Linked DNA regions of Homo sapiens: all the other regions are linked to region 6. Evidence: promoter capture Hi-C in 16 types of primary human blood cells and fetal thymus (Javierre and others, 2016). All regions are on one chromosome and are shown on one strand. Each heading gives the region's core, a stretch centred on a gene start or on the middle of the fragment in contact. The rest is flanking DNA. Distances are from core to core; before and after follow the strand shown. Region 1 overlaps REST (RE1 silencing transcription factor). Region 2 has its middle 41 kb from the start of REST. Region 3 overlaps CRACD (capping protein inhibiting regulator of actin dynamics). Region 4 overlaps CEP135 (centrosomal protein 135). Region 5 overlaps CEP135 (centrosomal protein 135). Region 6 holds the start of SRP72 (signal recognition particle 72). Region 7 has its middle 27 kb from the start of SPINK2.

Region 1 (2,733 bases), core at 192-2,691, 460 kb before region 6:
CTGTACCAAAACACATGAAAAAAAAAACTGATGGTTGGTATTTGAGATAAAAATTTGTTCGACATGCAACCTAGTGGTTTATTTATTGCAAAATCAAAACTGATAGCTGTGAATTTACTACATCCATTCGAAATAAATAAGTTATATGAAATACAGATTCTGGCATAGATATAAGATGTAAAAATCAAAATCAATAGATTGAACCTGCATATTTCATTTGCTCACAAACTTGCACACACTATTATTCTGCAAAATAGACAACTGCAGCAAAGAAAAAGAAAACTGCCCTTTTGCAAACAAGTCTAAAAGCATCCCTCCAAAGACGCCAAACAAAATAAACATGCATATATATATGTATAAAGTGTTACTGTTCAACACAAATGCTATTTCTAGGAAAAATTTAACTGCATAGGCAAAAAAACATAAACAGAAACCAAAAGAAAAAAAAAATGTGCAACATCTTAAGCCATTAAAGCACCAAAATAAAAAACACACCAAAATCACTGTTTTTATGACGATTAACATACACAAATAAAAAATATTGATCAAAACTCAGGAAGTAAATACTTGGACTGATAGACTGTCTATTGCTGGGGGAATTTTTCTTCAATTTAAATGTCTTCTCATCTCTAAAAAAAAAAATCTTAAAGTGCTAACTTTATATAAAGCAGGCAAATTCTTCAAGTAATTTGCTATTAAGTAAGCCAATTTTTTATAGATCTCAATAAAAAACGAAGAATAAACTAAAGTGAAACAGGAAGATAAGACATGGAGAAAAAAATGACAAGTTGTAGCTGGACAAAGCAATAAAATGCTGTTATACCATCTTAGCCTTCTAATTTCAATTAAACACATAAGCTAACAGATACCTGCTGGTTTAGTACACTCTCTTAGATTTACTAAAATTTACACAACAATCAACAGGTATACATAAAAAGTCCTAAGGAAAAGAATGCCACTTAAAAATCAACATCAGATACTAATTAAAGCAATCTTAAAAGGTTGTCTGCTATCATAAATGAATATAAAATGTAATATACCTTACAAACTAAGAACTGAAACCTTGTTCAAAGTTTCATTACTCCTGCCCTTGAGCTGCTTCTTCAAGATAGTACACATTAACCAAATGGCGATTGAGGTGTTTGCTGTAATCTTTTCCCTTTCTGAAAGAACGATCACAGAAGATACAAACAAAATCTCCCTTAGCCGCTTTGACTGCCAAGGCTTCCTTTGCATTTTTTCTGCTAGATTCTTGTGGAACTGGCCGAGCCCCATGCAATCCAGAATCATCACTACCCTCTGACATGTTGTCACTTAGGTCACTTCCTTCATGGCTGTGGATGCCTTCATCTTCATCAATTTCCTGAGACTCATTTGCTGCCATTGTAGCAGGAGGTGATGCCAGTGCAGTTTTGGACACTGCTTCACGTTCTTCTACTGCTGAAGGGGGAAGCATTGGTGAAACTGGTTCTTCAACTGTTGAATTTATACCAGTGAGATTCTCTCTTGTGTTCTGATCAGTGTCCATTTTCATTTCACAAACTATACTGTCAGTCTGATGTTTACCATTTAAAGTTTCACCCTCTGGCGTATTCAAGTTTTGTCCAGAGGATGAAATATGGGTAGATTCGTTGATATTAGCAGCAAGACCAGGTAGGCTCTCATCTGCCTCTTCTGCTCCTACTTTCTGAAGAGGGGCTTCTTTATTTCCTTCACCTGTGTTGAGTAATTTTTGGTCTCCTGATGCCTCTTCTCTTAAATTTTCCTTTGGCAGTGGTGGTGATGGTGGTGAGAGATCCTCTGTGCTTACACTTTCCTTTAGAAGCCAGCTATCTTTAACAGGCACTAAGCCAACTTCAATAAGGACTTGCTCCTTCCGTGCCCTTTCACTCTGCATGTTAGACTTTTCCTTTTTATCTTTTCGGAGAGGAGGCTTTTTGGAAATTGGCTCCATGTGAAGGGGAGGCTCTCTGGGAGGAGGTGGCTCCCTCTGAGCAGGCTCCTTCTGAACCACCCCCATGGGAGGAGACAACTCCATCTGAACAGGCTCCTTCTGGACCACCTCTATGGGAGGAGACAGCTCTATCTTAACAGGTTCCTTCTGGACCACCTCCATGGGAGGAGACAGCTCTATCTGAACAGGCTCCTTCTGGACCACCTCCATGGGAGGAGACAGCTCCATCTGAACAGGCTCCTTCTGGACCACCTGCATGGGAGCAGATTCTACCTGGGCAACCTCCATCTGAGCAGGTTCCATGGGAGCAGGCCCCATTTGGGCAACCTCCGTCTGAGCAGTCTCCATGGGAGGAGGCAGCTCCATGTGAGCAAGTACAATTTGGGCACCCACCATCTGAGCAGGCTCCACGGGAGGCAGCAGCTCCTTCTGAGCAGGCCCCTCCTGAACCACCTCCATCTGAACAGGCTCGTCAGGAGCAGGCCGTATCTGGGCACCCTCCATCTGAGCATGCTCCATGGGAGGTGGCGGCTCCACCTGAACGGGCCCCTTCTGAACCGCCTCTGTGGGAGCAGGCCCCATCTGAGGAGGGTCCATCTGAGCAGATCCCTTCTCAACAGGTTCCTTCTGAGGAGGCTTACTGCTTTTCTTACTTGATTTATTTTTCAGAGTTTTCTTCTTTGTACTTTTTTTCATGCAAGTATTTTGCTTTTTATTCTCCTCCACTTTGCTGTCACCCTTTGGCACTTCCTGACTATTATTTTTGGATTTGCTTTCTA
Region 2 (2,700 bases), core at 65-2,564, 400 kb before region 6:
GAAAATAAGCTATTCTGCTGGGCATGGTGGCTCACACCTATAATCCCACCACTTTGTGAGGCTGCGGTGGGAGGATTGCTTGAGCCCTGGAATTGGCGACCAGCCTCGGCAACATAGTGAGTCCCCATCTCTATAAAATTTTTTTTTAATTAGCTGGGCGTGGTGGCACATTCCTGTAGTCCTAGCTACTTGGGAGATTGAGGTGGGAGAATCCCTTGAGACCAGAAATTCAAGCCTGCAAAGAGCTATGATTGTGCCACTGCATTCTAGCCTGTGTGACAGAGTGAGACCCTGTCTCCAAAAATAAAATAAAATAAGGCATTCTAATAAAGTTAACCAGAACAATCTGAAATCTTTTATGTTCTTTTCAAGAAGTCATGGTAAATCTTACCATGACTGAAATTCAAGGAACTTTGAACACCTGAAAGTATCCAGAAGAATCAGCGACTAAAATTGGACAGACAAAAAATGTAAAATATCATAGTTTTATGCTCCATCATATATTCACTAGCTCCTACTGCTTGCCTGAAAATATACACTTCTTTGTGCATGGCTCACAATTCTTCTTTGAGTACAGCTATTGTTGATACATTGAGCTCACAAGCTTCAAGTGGCCGAAATTGTTGCTTCTTGAGAATGTTTATAGATCTCTCTAAACGAGAAACAGAAAACAATATTCTTCCTTTGTTTCTTGCTTGGAATAAGTAAAGCTCAAAGTAACATGCAAAGATCAGAGGGAAAATGGGACTCCAACATAATAATTCTGAAGGGCTGGGCATGGTAATTCATGCCTTTAATCCCAGCACTTTGGGAGGCAGAGGCGGGCGGATCATGAGATCAGGAGTTCGAGACCAGCCTGGCCAACATGGTGAAACCCCATCTCTACTAAAAATACAAAAATTAGCGGGGCGTGGTGGTGTAATCCTCAGGAGGCTGAGACAGAAGAATTGCTTGAACTTGGGAGGGGGAGGTTGCAGTGAGCTGAGATCGCGCCACCGCATTCCAGCCTGGACGACAGAGCGAGACTCCATATCAAAAAAAAAAAAAAAAAATTCTGGAGGCTTCCGTGTTTGTCGATCATCACTAAAGAGATCTGTATATGGCTTCGGAAAACAAAAACAAACAATAAGAAAAAAAGCCCTTCAGAGATAAGGAGTTTTCCCTTCATGTTTTGTTGTTGTTGTTGGTTTGGTTTGTTTCTGGGGTGGAGTCTCACTGTTGCCCAGGCTGGAGTAGCGTGGTGTGATCTCAGCTCACTGTAACCTCTGCCTCCCAGGTTCAAATGATTCTCCTGCCTCAGCCTCCTAGGTTGGGACTATAGGCTCCCACCACCATGCCCGGCTAATTTTTGTATTTTTAGTAGAGATCGGGTTTCACTATCTTGGCCAGGCTGGTCTCAAACTGCTGACCTCAGGTGATCTGCCTGCCTTGGCCTCCCAAAGTGCTGGGATTACAGGTGTGAGCCATGGCACCCAGCTCCTTCATGTTAAAAACATGTACTGTGGGCATTCTCAAGGTGCCATGAGGAATCCAAAGGTGTCCATGACAGGTTCTTAGCCCTGGGTCTCTGCCTTTGTAATTCTGGGACAGATAAATCTGAAAGCCAAGGCCAATATAAAATGAAAATGTGAGCCCCTTGTTAAATTTTTTTTAAAGGAGAATTTCAAGACAGTGACAGCAGAACATTATATCTAGCACAGGGTGCTTCTAACTGTGGGGCCCCATGTGGCTATACATGTTGCATACTGATGTGGTTTGGATATTTGTTGCCTCCAAATCTCATGTTGAAATGTGATTTCCAATGTTGGAGGTGGGGCCTGGTGGGAGGTGACTGGATCACTGGGTGGATCCCTCATGAATGACTTAACACTATTCTCTTGATGATGAGTGAGTTCTCCTTCAGTGAGTTCACGTGTGATCTTGTTGTTGAGGAGTGTGGGACCTGCCTCACCCTCTTTTTTGCTCCCACTCTGGCCATGTGACATGCTGGCTCCCCATCACCTTGCACCATGATTGGAAGCTTCTTGAGGCCTTGCCAGAAGCTGATGTCAGCACCATGCTTCCTGTAAAGCCTGCAGAACCGTGAGCCAATTAAACCTCTTTTCTTAAATTACGCAGTCTCAGGCATTCCTTCCTAGTAATGCTACAACTGACTAATACACATACCCATGAAGTCGTTCCTCAAGAAAACCATTAAGGTAAAATAGAATGAAATAAATGCTAAAGAAATACAAAGGTGCAGAGGAAATAAAAAGGAAGAAGCAATTATGTACCCGCACTACAGAAAAGGAGTTAAAAGGCCGAACACAGTGGCTCAAGTCTGTACAATCCCAGCGCTGTGGGAGACTGAGGAGGGTAGATCACCTGAGGTTGGGAGTTCAAGACCAGCCTGGCCAACATGGCAAAACTTCGTCTCTACTAAAAATACAAAAATTAGCCCAGCGTGGTGGCACGCACCTGTAATCCCAGCTACTCGGGAGGCTGAGGCACAAGAATCACTTGAATCTGGGCGACGGAGGTTGCAGTGAGCTGAAATCATGCCACTGCACTCCAGCCTGGGTGACAGAGCAAGACTTTGTCTCAAAAAAAAAGGGGGGGCTAATAGATTATTGACAAACATGTTGCTACCTCACACTTCCCTCTCCTAGGTGTGGGTCTCTAACATCTCTGTCAGTGCACTTACCACCTCAAATGGTAATT
Region 3 (2,813 bases), core at 152-2,651, 420 kb after region 6:
GAAGAAAAGAAATAAAGATTCAACAACAGCTTTCTTAAATGCACTTAACCTGATTATCCTTAGCATTAGTGCTTTTCAAAGCGTAGTTCCTGACCCATTAATGGGATGTGAAATCATTTAGCGATCTCAACCAACATTTTTTAAATAAAATAGAATAAAAAATATAAGAATGCATTGCACATTCAAAGTCTAAGCATTACTTCATGAATTTTTTAATTACAGATATTTACAATGTATCTGTATACTGGGTGGCAAAGTAAAATGCATCTCTTACTGTGCAAAAATAAAAGTTTAGGCTGGGCGCAGTGGTTCATGCCTGTAATCCTAGTATTTTGGGAGGCCAAGGCAGGAGGATTGCTTGAGACCAGCCTGGGCAACACAGTGAGACCTCACCTCTTTAAAAAAATAAAAATAAAATAAAAAATTAAAAAGTTTAAAAGCCATTGCTTTACATTAAAATAATGAAAATAAAAATTAGCTGACACTGAGTGCTTAGTTTGTACTAAACATTGTGCTATGCCCACATTATTTTATTTGATCCTCACAAAAATGTTCTAAATAGGATTACTTCCCCCATTTTACAGATGAGGAAACTGAGGCTTAGATTAAATCACCTGCCAAGGATGCAGAGCTAGTAGCCAGTAAAGCCAATGCTCAAATTCAATCACCTGCCTCGAGAACTTGTGTATTTAACCACTCCCCTAAGTACTAGGTTGTAAAATATACCTTTTCTTTATGTAAAAGTTATCCAAAAGGTAGACTTTTTCATGGGGTCTAATTCCAGCGTGATTTTCTGGGGGTACAGTGTATCTTGGAGAAGGTTGTGTGATTCAGGGGAGAAAGCTCTGGGCGTGAGATCCAGCTTCTGTCCCTGGCATTGTTGCTTTAGTGGCAAGGAGCTGGCAAGTCATTTAATCTCGCCATGTCTGGATTTCCTCACCTACAAAACGGGAATGATAATATCTGCCCTGCCTCCCCACAGGCCATTGTGAGAAACTATATGCACATACAACAAGTGAAATGTTCTATTGTGCCACTCAGTTACAGGAGATGATTTAAAATGATGAAAAAAACCACCCAAGAGACCCCATTCTTGGAAGAAACACACATCAACTATGACTGAAAAAGGAGGTCACCAAGCTTTCATCAACTGTATGTGGAAAACCTCTACACAGTTGTTGGCACACAGTAGGCCTTCAGTAAATGTTCGTTGAATAAAAAGTAAACAAATTCCATCTGTACACGTTTTATCCACTTGTATTTTTTTCACCTATTCATTCTTTCTTTCCATGACTACATACTGAACACCTACTGTGTGCCAGATCAGAAATACAGACCACAAAAAAAGACTAAAAGATTGTCCCTTTCCCTGGAGAATTTCAAATTAATGCCAATTAATTGGTCTGAAATTGGGTAAGAGAAAAACTGTAAAACACAGCTTCCTCATCTAGCGATAATAATAACTTACATTTATTATAGTGCTTTGTAGTTTATGAAGAACTATGAACTATTACCAAGAGCTAGCTTTTGTTTCTCACACCAATTGCCTATTGTCAAGTTGGTGTTAGCTTCCTCCTCCAAATTCAGTGGTCGGTAAGTACTGCTAAGTCTTTAGAGTGAAAGTTTCTCAATGTGTTAGAGATGACTGTAAAATTAAGCTTTTGAATACAATGCATTTTAAATAATCAACAGTGGAAAGGGCGATCCAGTAACATGATTTTTTCCCTGCCCACTTCTGAGTTGAAGTGATCTGTAATGCAACCATATTATATTTTTCAAAATGTTTCTTTTTCAAAGCTGCCTTTGAAATTTTTTTTCATATAGGCAATTTTCTCTTGAATATACTGAACAAGGATTCCCTTTTCCCAAAGGATAAAGGAGACAGTAGTGAAGGAGTCTTCTCTTTGTTGACTTTTTAAAAATTACTCAAAACTGACTGTTTTATTCAGATTCCTGAGTCACAAACAATGCCAAAGAACTGTGAGCCATTTTTTATATAATTCCACAATTACTATAGGTGATTTTTAAAGGAAACATTGATTTAACTCACAACTTAATGAATCAAAAATTTGCCACAGGATATTTACTAAGAATCTTTTTCTAAAACTGCCTTATCCTTTGTATTCTAACCACTCCCTCTCCACCACCACCACTTACCACCCCCAATACACACACACACACACACACACACACACACACACACACACACTCCCTCACCTACACCAGATCAGTTTCCCAGCCATTATTCCTAAAACCATATTAAAATTTCACAACACATGGTCGTACTTACTAGGTTTTCTTCCCCCTCCCCCTCCACTGAATCAATGTGTCTTGAAATATATATTCTCTTAAAATTCAGAATTCAGAAAATGATTACGATGTCTCTAACTCAAGAACACATATTATAAAATTCAAAGTCGGCTTCTGTTTACTGATAATCATGAAAAAAAAAAAGCCATACCCCACCCACCGTATCCGTAGGGTTAGGAGGTCCAATCTCGCCACTACAGAGCTCTGCAAGAAAGGACGGTTATAGTGCCAGGAAAACCATCGCAACAAGCCCCGGGCGAAGATAAAGAAAACAGATTTTACACCACGGGCAGCGCGCAGTCTCCTGGCCCCGGCCCTTGGTAAACAGGGGAAACCTTTGTCTTGCCTCAGCTATCAAACTGGTGGCTCATCAGAATTGGGGCAACAAGAGTTTGTGCGAAACGGTCTGGCAGAGGTTAAACAAAGCAATGCAGCTCCGGGGGCGGTGGGGAGAGGGCTGAGCCCGGACGGCGTCCGCGATCCCGGACGGTGAGGTCTGGTTC
Region 4 (2,700 bases), core at 28-2,527, 490 kb after region 6:
TTTTTTACTTATGATGGGTTTATTGGAATGTAATCCCATTGTAAGTCAAAGAGCATCTATGCTAAAACCAATGAAATGGTATACTTTAAGTGGGTGAATTGTATGGTATGTGAATATCTCTGTAAAGCTGTTACAAAAACAAACAAACAAACAAAGATACTGTCTTCCCATATGAGAAACTTCTGCTTAAGTTCAGGGATTGGCAAACTTTTTCTGTAAAAAAACAGTAAATATTTTAGGTTTTGTAGGTCATACTACAAAAGAAGCTAAAGATAATACATAAACAAATAAGCAAGGTAATCCAATAACATTTTATCAACAATGAAATATTCTTCTTAATCCATTCTTAGCTCACAGGCCATACATAAACAAAGTGGTCTGGATTTGGCCAATAGTAACTTCACAGGAAAATGTATATACAAAGACCTCTTTTTCTCAACAAATTACCTTTCAAAAACATGTCAATCTTCTTACCTCTAATTTTTCTCTTAAAGCTTCCTTTTCTGCCATAATTCTTCTTAAGTCAGATAACGCAAGTTCTTTTTCCTTTTCCATAAGACTAACAATATTATGGGGTGCTGTGGTTTGGGTGGATTCCTTTCTTAGGGCAGATAATTCTTCCTGAGCCTTAAAGAATGAAAAGATATAAATTAAAAAGGCACTTTAGTAAAAGATATAAATAAAAAATACTTTGGATATGTTTCCAGTTAAAAAAGGCATACTGAACACATGCTACCGTCACTCTCTTCGCAAATCCCAACAAAAGATTAAAATAGTAAGAATAATAAAACAAAAAAGACAAGGGGATTGAGGGAGGCACCAGCCACAAAATGTTGGAAACTAGACAGCAGACAGACAAGCAGGAAGTAACTAGGCAGACCCAAGAAAGCTGAAATCTAAGCTAGCAATGGGGAAAGCCCAGAAGTGGATCAATTTACACTGCAGAATTCCCCCCAAAAAACTCATTAAGTGACTCTTTCAACGTGACCTTTAACTTGCATGCCTCTTCCCCTTCTCAAAATAGCAGTAGGATTTCATGGGAGATGGGTATGTGAACAAATTTAGGTGACAGACACCATGCTTTGCTCAGACTTACCTTGCCCTCTAACAACTGAGGATTTGTTAATGGGGCCAAGCTGAATACCAATTCCCTCTTCCTAGAGTACAGTATTTAGAGACTAAGTCCTAAATAGCCAATATATCCAAATAGTGGGTGCTACCCACTGTTTTGATAGACATTTCCCTACGTCTGAATTCCAAGCATAAATTTGGCTCAGAGTCAGGCTGAGACCTGCTTCAGGTAGTTTTAGAAAAAGAAGACTATCTCTAACTGATCTGACACATAGATAGGCTAGAAAAGGGAAAGAATAAATATGAAAAAATAAGAGAAATTTGTGTTTTAGAAACAGAATGATAGTAGAAACTACTACTGATAATTTTAATTATGAAGAAATATCACAGGTCCATATATTATAGTAATGTGAAAGATATATACAGGCTCCATTATAGTTAACTGGTTCTATACAATCTATTGGCTTAATTATAATACATTTCTTACTTCATTATATAAGACACTTAGTTTATCTCTTTCTGCTGTCAATAATTTAACATTGGACTGTATATCTTCCATATATTTTTCAAATCTTTCTAGCATACGCTGAAGTTCATCTCTTTCTCTTGTGATCTGATGAATTTCTGAATTGTAATCACCCTGAAACATAATTAAAAAACAAAATATAATCATCACCACATGGTTGTCACAAGGATACTGATGATGAGATTGACTGAAAGATGCTACCAGACAAAAAGAACACAAGTGCCTTTAACGTAATTAAGGAACACAGTTTTAAAAATCTATGATGAGAGCAGATGAGAGCACTGGCAGTACCAGGGCAAATTTCCTGGCCTTCAAGTTCCCAGAAGAGACTTAGCTGCCAATGATGTGACTTGATCAGATCCCATGAGATGTTTCAACTTTTATTCTCCCAAAGTTGTTCATACTCGTGGTACTTGAAGTATAATCCCCAGACCAGAAGCATTAGCAGTATCTAAAAGCTTGTCAGACATGCAAATTTTGGAGTTTGAAGCCCAACCCAGACCTACTCAGTCAAGAAACTTCCGGGTAGGGCCAAGTAACTGTATTTTATCAAGCCCTCTAAGTGATTCTGATGCCTGGTAATTTTTTAGAGCCACTAGTTAGTTTATCTTCTCCAGAGAAGGGGCCAGCAGGGTACTTGTGTGCCTGCTCGCCCAGTACAGGTAACTGTAACAGCCTAGCACATTTCTCAGTGTTTTCTATGATTGAATCTAAGATCAATACGCCAGGCATACCAACCCCCAACTGTCTCAGCTTCAGACCTACAGGAGGTCTTTTTATACAGTCAAATAAATGCAAATATTTCTACCAGGCAGTATATATTAAGAATATTCACTGAATAAGCAACTACTTCCAACATTTCTACAATTTAGTGCAATTTAAAAGATGCCTACAATTTAGTACAATTCAAAAGATTCACTGTCTTCATCACTATGGTAGAAAATAAAGATGAGAGCACTCTGATTCTCCCCATGCACATGTAAATAAATTTGTATGCCTTTTTCCTATTAAAAAAAAAGAAAAATAACAAATGTAGACTTGGGATCTATGGTATCTTAATGTTACAAGCACTAAATGCAGAAGTGCCAAGAAGGGATAATTTG
Region 5 (2,899 bases), core at 72-2,571, 500 kb after region 6:
CAGAGTTCTATACAACAAGAATATCAAGATGATAATAGACTGTGTTGTTCAATATAGTAGCCTCTAGCAACCACATGTGGCTACTGAGCATCTGAAATGTGGCTAGTGTAAACTGAGATGTGCTATAACTGTAAAATATACACAGGATTTCAAAGATAATACAAACAAAAAAATAGGTATGTAAAAACATTACTGGTTGAAATTATAATATTTTGGACATACTGGGGTAAATATATTGTTACAATTAATTTCACCTCTTTTTATTTTTTTAAATCAAGCTGCTACTAGAAAAATTTAAATTACATATATGGCTCATATCATATTTCTATGGGACAGCACTCCTCTAGAGCTACTGTTGATATTTTTTACTTACTATATTCTGTTTGTAGCCCAGGCAACTCTGTCATACCAAAATTTCTAAAGTTCCTGTGTCATACTGCATGGAACTCTCCTGCTCTTTCAGCCTTAGGTCAAATGCATGGCAAAGGAATCCACTACGTAAGTAGATAAAAGCTAGGTATTTAATTTTTATATATATTTTTAAATTTTTACATTATAAAATAAATATATACTCATAAAAATTTTAAAAAAGAAAAAGAGAAAACCATAAAGGAGAATATCCCACCACAGAAAGATAAGCTTTGTTAGTATACTTTGGTATATTCTCTTCGTTTTCTCTTTCCAAGTCCATATATACATTTTCTTAAAAGCAAATTGGCAATCATGTGCCCAGAGTTTATTCTCTTCCTTTAAATTGTTAATGTTATGGTGCATGTTAATTACTGCCTCATTAGTCTTTGAAAACATGATTTTTCAATAACTCCACCCTATTTCTGGATACTATGGTTCTATCAAATTTTTCCCATTGCAAATAATACCTCAGTGAACAACTCCTGCCACTTTTACAAACCCATAGACCATTATAAACATATAGTGTTTATTATAAACACCATTATATACACTCAGTGAAATAATTATAAAAGCCATTACCTGAATATTTAAATGAGCAATAAGCTTTTCATTGGTTTTATTTCTAGACTCCAGAGAAAGGACATCAGGGGACCGACCACCATCCAAAGCAACTGACAGTCGTTCTATCTCTCGTTCTCTTAGCTCAATCTGAAGATATAGTCATGCTGTCATTTTAAAAAATCTGGTTTTCAACCAAATGATTAACACTGTACAAACATTTATTTGGATATATTTTCTTATGTACCAATGTATGCAAGAGATTAACATTCATATTTGTGTCCATATATTATATGCATAAATGCAGAACAAAAATAAATTACATAGAAAATGTCAACAGACATGCTGTCACTATATCTTTCATATGTATTTTTACTACATAGATTCTTCCTAATTTAATTTTTGTATTTTTTTCCCTCCTTTAAGATTTAACAATGTTTATATAAAAAGAAACTTGCTAGCAGATTACATACATGCTCAAGTACTAGAACTGAATCTCAACTACTTCAGTTCCTGGTAGAATAAATGAATGAGTGTAACACACTAAGAAAAGTAAGTTGCTACTGAACCTCAATATTAAAAAGAATAGGAAACTGGGGTGAATTTAATTATCTGTTATTTATGTAAGAATTTGGAAAGGCTCACACTTTCAAGCTTTGGCTTTTTCTTTTTCTTTTTGAGACGGAGTTTCACTCTGTCACCCAGTCTGGAGTGCAGTGGCATGATCTCGGGTCACTGCAACCTCTGCCTCCCGGGTTTGAGCAATTCTCCTGCCTCAGCCTCCTGAGTAGCTGGGACTACAGGTATGTGCCACCACGCCTGGCTAATTTTTGTATTTTTAGTAGAGATGGGGTTTTACCATGTTGGCCAGGCTGGTCTTGAACTCCTGACCTCAGGTGATCCGCCTGCCTCGGCCTCCCAAAGTGCTGGGATTATAGGCGTGAGCCACCACTCCTGGCCCAAGCTTTGGTTTTCTTAAATAAATAACCAAACATTCCAAACATACCAAAAAGCAACAAAAACATGGAATGTTTGAGACAGCAGAAATAGCTTGGTATGACTGGATGTAATGTGCATGGGATCTAGTAGTTGGAGATGTCTGAAGAACTAGGACAAAACTAATTACGATTATGCTGGACTAAAGGATGAAATTGACAGGAATAAAAACAGAGGCAGGGGCAGGGAGACCTAATGCAGAAATGCATAAGAAACAATTAATAACTAAAATAAAACAGTGGTAGAGGATAGAACAGAAGAAATAAGTTTAAGAAGCACTTAGCCAGGAGAAATGACAGAACTTGGTGAGTGGTATGCGAAGGCAAGAGAAAGAGATCTAGAAAGAATACAGAATGTGCACTTGGGCAAACATTGATGCTACCAACCAAAGTAGAGAATAAAGGAGTCGAAACCAGAAGAGAAAAAGTTCAGTACAAGGCATATGAGTACAAAAAGACTCCACCCAAGTGGAAATGCCCAATGTAAAGGTGGGTATATGGGTCTGGAGTTCAGCAGAGAAGTTTGAGCCACAGAGAGATGAAGGAGTCATCAATATACAGGCAGTATTTTAAACCAAGAGAGCAGATGAGGACACTTGAAAAAGATACATAAGACGAGAAGGGGTCAAAGACAGAATCCAAGAAAACAGTAATATTTCAGGGAGTGGACAGTTGAAAAAAAGCAAAAAAAAAAAAAAGAGGCTTAAAAAAAAGAAAACTGGAAAAAAATGAAGTCATGGAAGAAGTTTCAAAGAGCAATTATCAATAATATCAAATACCACAGAGTAGGTCAAGAAAACAAAGACTGTAAGTATCCTTTTGGATCTAGCAATTAATGTTACTAATGTAATTAACTAGACCAGTTCACATAGTGAGTGCAGAAGACAGACTACAATAGGTTAAGGAGTGAGCAGGAGGTGGAGAAGCAGAGACAG
Region 6 (2,700 bases), core at 30-2,529:
CACAAGAATTTCTACCAATTAAGAAAACATACTGGTAAACAAGTTGACAATCTTTGCTGATTAAAGAATTCCTGCAAAATACTATACTAAGTATACAGTACTGGTTGGAAGGCTAGAGTTAATTCAAACAAATTTAGGGATCAAATAATTCTAATTCGTAGCTATTTTCCTCAATGTCTGAAATCACCAAAAGTGCACTGTGGGCACAATCACTACTTTTCACGTTAACCCAGTACTAGAGTGTTGAAAATTACTTAGATAGCTTTGCATGTTACTGACACACCTTTTAGGTTACTGCTACTCTGAACAGCTAAGCCCTGCCTTGGTAATTACATTTCCAAATCTAACATGCACAGGCTGTATCTTCAGTAGAGAAGAACTGCGCACCACCGAGAACATTAAGCAGCATGGCCATATTCCAGGTATGTAGTAAGGAACAAAAGAATATGATGAATTAAACCTCACACCAAAGGCGGTAAAAACCGAAATCATCCCTTACAGGGCAAAAAAACAGGCCAAACTTTTCTTCCGACATTATTTCAAGTGTTGGTGCTTCCACACACATATTTCCTAACTTAATAACACTGAAGAGATCTCATCTATGGGAATGACAGGCCTGACATCCAGATCCAGCCCTTTCCTCTCGCCCCGTAGAACCCGTACAGCTTCCACCTGGTTAGCACCAGCCTCTAAACTACGTGTCCCAAGCAGGTTCCTCCCCCTTTAGCGGCCAAAGAGAACAAGCTCCCTCAGCAATAGAGTCCTGATCACTGCGCTCAAGACGAAGAAGAAAAGGAGGCACTTTGGAATATTTGTGAAATAAAGCAGCAAAGGAGTCAAATAAGAAAACAGTTTGAAATGGACTCCGGGAGCTGCGGTCTCTTTAAAACCTTCCCTCGCTTCCCGCGGAGGGTAAAAAGAGAAGTACACGTGGCTGTAAGCAACCAGGGACCCCAGGCTGGCCTGGTGAAGCCGAGGAGTGAGACCTGCGTCTTCCGGGCGCTAGGGCCCGAGCCGGGCGGACAATAGACGGGGGGGTTTCGGGGGTCTCCCCTTCCCGTGCCTCCCGCGCGAGGTGGTCTCGCGCGCCGGAAACAGGCCGCATCCTCCAGCCGGCCTGGGCCCGCCCCAGTGCCCACCCCGACACTTACTCTTATTGACGGTCTTGAGAGCGCGCGTGAAGTCGCCGTTCTGGCCATACCGGTTCACTTCACTCCACAGCGCAGGTACTGACACCCCCCCGCTGCCGCCGCTCGCCATCTTGGAGGAGACGAGGGGCGGGGCGGGGAGACCTCTGCCCCGGAACAGGATCTCCGAGGCAGCCAAGAGGAGGAGGAAGTCGATGATTGCTAAGCGTCGCCGAGTTGGGAGTGTCTTCAGCCCTAAGGCAGCATCAGAGATCATAATCTTCTGCTCTCGTGGCAAGAAATTTGTGCGGATAGAGTTGATACACCTCACTTGAAGTTGGCCTGGAGAAAAGAGGCGTCGGACTCCTGGACGGGGTTGGGAAACGGTCACCAGTTTCGGCTCAAAGCAGCCTGTTTCCAGGAGACCGCCATGGTCGAGGCAGCGTCCTGGTCCCACGGTGCGGGGCCGGACGATCATTTATGGGATATAAATAAAAGGACTATGAGGTGGTAAATAAAAGACTACCAACTAGAAGCCATAGGGAGTCATTTGAAGGAGAAATAGGCACGGCTCATCTGTGGTTGAGGGAAAGGGATCTTGAAAGATGATTAGGAGAACTTGGGTTCTGGGGAAAGTGCGGGAAGACATTCTGGCAGAGAAGCAAACGTGAGGAAAGGTAAGAAGGCAAGAATCTCCCATTACAAAGGGTTTGGTGAAACCCTTTGCCTGTCCTTTTCGCTCCCTTCGGGAGCAGTCGGCAATAAGCTGGAAGGGTAATGGGGTGAAAATGCCCGTGGTCAGTTCCCTGGCTCTGCGACTCACTAGATGTCTGACAATAAACAAGTTACTTAGCTTCTGGGAGTCTGTTTTCCCGATTGTGAAATGGGGATACTATATTTGTTCTAGAGATATAAAATATTAGGGTTTGCTTGCGACCGTTAATATCAAGATGTGTTCAGATGTACGAAGGGAATGGATATCTGTTGGGTACACTTGATGTGAGTGATTTTTTTTTTTTTTTGAGACGGGGATCTTGCCGTGTTGCCCAAGCTGGTCTGGAACTCCTGGGCTCAAGCAATCCTCCCACCACAGCCTCCCCAAGTGCTGGGATTACAGGCATGAGCCACCACACCAAGACGATGTGAGTGATTCACTTGATGTGAATGTTGTATTTCATTGAATGGCCTGCTCTTCAGACTCATATCTCGTCATGACCTTTACAACTTCTACTACTTCCTGTGTCCCTCAGGAACCTAGCTTTTTTTTTTTTTTTTTTTTTTTTTTTTTGAGACGTAGTCTAGCTCTGTGACCCAGGATGAACCTCACTGCAATCTCCACCTCCTGGGTTAAAGCGATTCTTTTGCCTCAGCCTCCCAAGTAGCATGAGCCACCACGCCCGGTTAATTTTTGAATTTTTAGTAGAGATGGGGTTTCACTGTGTTGGCCAAGCTGGTCTCAAACTCCTGACCTCAAGTGATCCGCCCTCTCTCAGCCTCCCAAAGTACAGGGATTACAGGCGTAAGCCACCGTGCCCGGCCTTGCTAACTACTTTTTGTCTTTCAGTCTTTCTGG
Region 7 (2,769 bases), core at 78-2,577, 380 kb before region 6:
GCGCAATTCATAATTGCAAAACTATGGAACCAACCTAAATGCCCATCAACCAACGAGTGGATAAAGAAAATGTGGTATATATAAATACCATGGAATACTACTCAGCCATAAAACAAAATGAAATAATGGCCTTTGAAGCAAGTTGGATGGAGCTGGAGGTCATTATTCTAAGTGAAGTAACTCAGGAATGGAAAACCAAATACCATAGATTCTCATTGATAAGTGGGAGCTAAACTATGAAGATACAAAGGCATAAGAATTATATAATGGACTTTGGGGACTCAGAGGGAAGGGTGGGGTGGTGAGGAATAAAAGACTACACATTGGGTACAGGGTACACTGCTCGGGTGACAAGGGCACCAAAATCTCAGAAATCATCACTAAAGAGCTTATCCATGGAACCAAAAACTGCCTGTACCTCAAAAACTACTGAAATTTAAAAAAAATGTTTTTTCCCCATGGTTTATATCATTTCCTTATAGGCTTCATTTTTTCCAGAGGTTAACTTTTTTTTTTTTTTTTTGAGACAGAGTCGTGGTCTCTTGCCCAGGCTGGAGTGCAGTGGTGTGATCTCACTGCAACCTCTGCCTCCTGGATTCAAGTGATTCTCGTGCCTCAGCCTCCTGAGTAGCTGCAATTACAGGCTGCTGAGTAGCTGCAATTACAGGCATGTGCCACCATACCCAGCTAATTTTTTTCCTGGCTTCAAGTGTTCTACCCAACTCGCCCTCCCAAAGTGCTGGGATTACAGGCATGAGCCACCGTACCCAGCCTCCAGAGGTTAACTTTTCTTTGCTACCTGCTGCATAATATCATTGATAATTTCTTTGCTACCTGCTGCATAACGTCATTGATAATTTCCATCTGTTCCACTGATATTGTTTCTCCTGGCAACTGTTAGCTGGACTCCTTCAATTTTATCCATCTTAAAATTATATTTGCATGTTTTTCTTTCTTTCTTTCTTTCTTTTTTTTGAGACGGAGTCTCGCTCTGTCGCCCAAGCTCGAGTGCGGTGGCGTGATCTCGGCTCACTGCAAGCTCCACCTCCCAGGTTCATGCCATTCTCCTGCCTCAGCCTCCCGAGTAGCTGGGACTACAGGTGCCTGCCACCACACCCGGCTATTTTTTTTGTATTTTTAGTAGAGTCGGGGTTTCACCATGTTAGCCAGGATGGTTTTGATCTCCTGACCTCCTGATCCACCCGCCTCTGTCTCCCAAAGTGCTGGGATTACAGGCGTGAGCCACCACGCCCGGCCTCTTTCTTTCTTTCTCTTTTTTTTTTTTTTTGAGACGGGGTCTTGCTCTGTCACCAGGCTGGAGTGCAGCGGTGTGATCTTGGCTCACTGCAACCTCCGCCTCCTGGCTTCAAGCGATTCTCCTGCCTCAGCCTCCTGAGTAGCTGGGACTACAGGTGTGCACCATCACACCCAACTAATTTTTGTATTTTTAGTAGAGACGGGGTTTCACCATGTTGGTCAGGATGGTCTCTATCTCCTGACCTCGTGATCCGCCCAGCTCGGCCTCTCAAAGTGCTGGGATTGCAGGTATGAACCACCGCTCCTGGCCCTTTCTTTTTTTGAGATGGAGTCTCACTCTGTTGCCAGGCTGGAGTGCAGTGACATGATCTCGGCTCACCGCCAATCTCCGCCTCCTGGTTTCAAGTGATTCTCCTGCCTCAGCCTCCCAAGCAGCTGGGATTACAGGCATGCACCACCATGTCCCACTAATTCTGTATTTTTAGTAGAGGTGGGGTTTTGCCATGTTGTCCAGGCTGTTCTTGATCTCCTGACCTCAAGTGATCCTTGAGCCTTGGCCTCCCAAAGTGCTGGTATTAAAAGGATAAGCCACCGCACCCAGCCTTATTTGCATGTTTTTCATATTGAGAATTTATTAAATTTTTTACTGCATGGTAGATTCCTGAACTTTCACTGTATTATTTCTCTTAGTCTTTAGTTATAATAATTTTTTCCATGTGGAAAAAATATCTGCCTAACATATGGAAAAATAAAAGAAAAAACATGGAAGATCAAGCCATTTCACCAGTCCTTCAGGCTGCCCTTGCCTCCTACTTAATTCCTTCTTTCTGCCCTTCTCTAAGCTCTTCCTAAATATGGCATTGAGAAGGCATTTACATTTCTTTTCTTTTTTTTATTTTTATTTTTGAGATGGAGTCTCACTCTGTCACCCAGGCTGGAGTGCAATGGCGTGATCTCGGCCCACTGCAACCTCTGCCTCCCAGGTTCAAGAGATTCTCTTGCCTCAGACTCCCAAAAAGCTGGGATTACAGGCACCTGCCACCAGGCCTGGCTAATTTTTTTTTTTCTATTTTTAGTAGAGACAGGGTTTCACCAGATTGGCCAGGCTGGTCTCAAACTCCTGACCTCAAGTGATCCACCTACCTTAGCCTCCCAAAGTGCTGGGATTACAGGCGTGAGCCACTGCACCTGGCCGGTATTTACATTTCTCTCTCTTTCTCCCCAGCTTCTCCTTCCCTTCCTTTTTGAGAGTTGCCATAGGAGCCTCTAAGATAGCTCCCAACATTTCACCCTCCTGGTATTCATGCCCTTGTGTACTCCCTCCCCTTCCTTTAAGTGTCAGCTGAACAAGGTGACTTGCTTCTAACAAATAGAATAGGGCATGAGTAATGGGATGGCACTTCCAAGATTAGCATGCAAAAAGAATATGTGATTTTCATCTTGTATTCTCTCATTCTCTCTGCCTTCATTCTGGGGGAAGCCAGCTGACATGTTGTCAGAAGCCCTGTGGAG

What was found. The method cuts DNA at HindIII sites, captures the fragments that hold promoters and counts their contacts. A CHiCAGO score of 5 or more calls a contact.
Region 1: a contact is called between a fragment that was not itself captured here and the fragment with the promoter of SRP72 in region 6, in 12 of 17 cell types (naive CD4 T cells, M1 macrophages, naive CD8 T cells and 9 more). The highest score is 9.4, in naive CD4 T cells.
Region 2: a fragment that was not itself captured here is called in contact with the fragment with the promoter of SRP72 in region 6 in 3 of 17 cell types (M1 macrophages, naive CD4 T cells and M2 macrophages); the score reaches 5.4 in M1 macrophages.
Region 3: a contact is called between a fragment that was not itself captured here and the fragment with the promoter of SRP72 in region 6, in 2 of 17 cell types (fetal thymus and erythroblasts). The highest score is 6.1, in fetal thymus.
Region 4: a fragment that was not itself captured here is called in contact with the fragment with the promoter of SRP72 in region 6 in 1 of 17 cell types (naive CD8 T cells); the score reaches 5.0 in naive CD8 T cells.
Region 5: a fragment that was not itself captured here is called in contact with the fragment with the promoter of SRP72 in region 6 in 3 of 17 cell types (fetal thymus, total CD4 T cells and non-activated CD4 T cells); the score reaches 6.8 in fetal thymus.
Region 7: a contact is called between a fragment that was not itself captured here and the fragment with the promoter of SRP72 in region 6, in 7 of 17 cell types (non-activated CD4 T cells, M2 macrophages, M1 macrophages and 4 more). The highest score is 7.7, in non-activated CD4 T cells.

What each region holds. Positions count from the first base shown.
Region 1 is chr4:56,930,498-56,933,230 of GRCh38, reverse strand. It overlaps REST (RE1 silencing transcription factor), which reads right to left. Exons shown (of 4, transcript NM_005612.5): 4 at 1-2,733. The coding sequence ends at 1,079. Among named protein-coding and RNA genes, the nearest start is that of REST, 24 kb to the right of the region's middle. The HindIII fragment of the contact is 4,321 bases long and covers 1-2,733 here.
Region 2 is chr4:56,865,184-56,867,883 of GRCh38, reverse strand. No RefSeq gene overlaps it. Among named protein-coding and RNA genes, the nearest start is that of REST, 41 kb to the left of the region's middle. The HindIII fragment of the contact is 1,416 bases long and covers 607-2,022 here.
Region 3 is chr4:56,049,670-56,052,482 of GRCh38, reverse strand. The region is part of intron 1 of CRACD (capping protein inhibiting regulator of actin dynamics); the gene reads right to left. Among named protein-coding and RNA genes, the nearest start is that of CRACD, 2.0 kb to the right of the region's middle. The HindIII fragment of the contact is 518 bases long and covers 1,143-1,660 here.
Region 4 is chr4:55,979,154-55,981,853 of GRCh38, reverse strand. CEP135 (centrosomal protein 135) reads right to left here. Exons shown (of 26, transcript NM_025009.5): 12 at 1,559-1,711; 13 at 475-627. Among named protein-coding and RNA genes, the nearest start is that of CEP135, 32 kb to the right of the region's middle. The HindIII fragment of the contact is 1,561 bases long and covers 497-2,057 here.
Region 5 is chr4:55,962,494-55,965,392 of GRCh38, reverse strand. It overlaps CEP135 (centrosomal protein 135), which reads right to left. Exons shown (of 26, transcript NM_025009.5): 7 at 991-1,119. All of the region lies in intron 2 of LOC124900705 (a long non-coding RNA gene), which reads left to right. Among named protein-coding and RNA genes, the nearest start is that of CEP135, 15 kb to the right of the region's middle. The HindIII fragment of the contact is 609 bases long and covers 1,017-1,625 here.
Region 6 is chr4:56,466,196-56,468,895 of GRCh38, reverse strand. It overlaps SRP72 (signal recognition particle 72), which reads right to left and starts at 1,279. Exons shown (of 19, transcript NM_006947.4): 1 at 1,152-1,279. The coding sequence starts at 1,260. It overlaps LOC124900706 (a long non-coding RNA gene), which reads left to right and starts at 1,338. Exons shown (of 2, transcript XR_007058126.1): 1 at 1,338-1,804. RefSeq lists an enhancer at 1,225-1,434. The HindIII fragment of the contact is 5,513 bases long and covers 1-2,700 here.
Region 7 is chr4:56,847,414-56,850,182 of GRCh38, reverse strand. No RefSeq gene overlaps it. Among named protein-coding and RNA genes, the nearest start is that of SPINK2, 27 kb to the right of the region's middle. RefSeq lists an enhancer at 951-1,450. The HindIII fragment of the contact is 3,045 bases long and covers 1-2,769 here.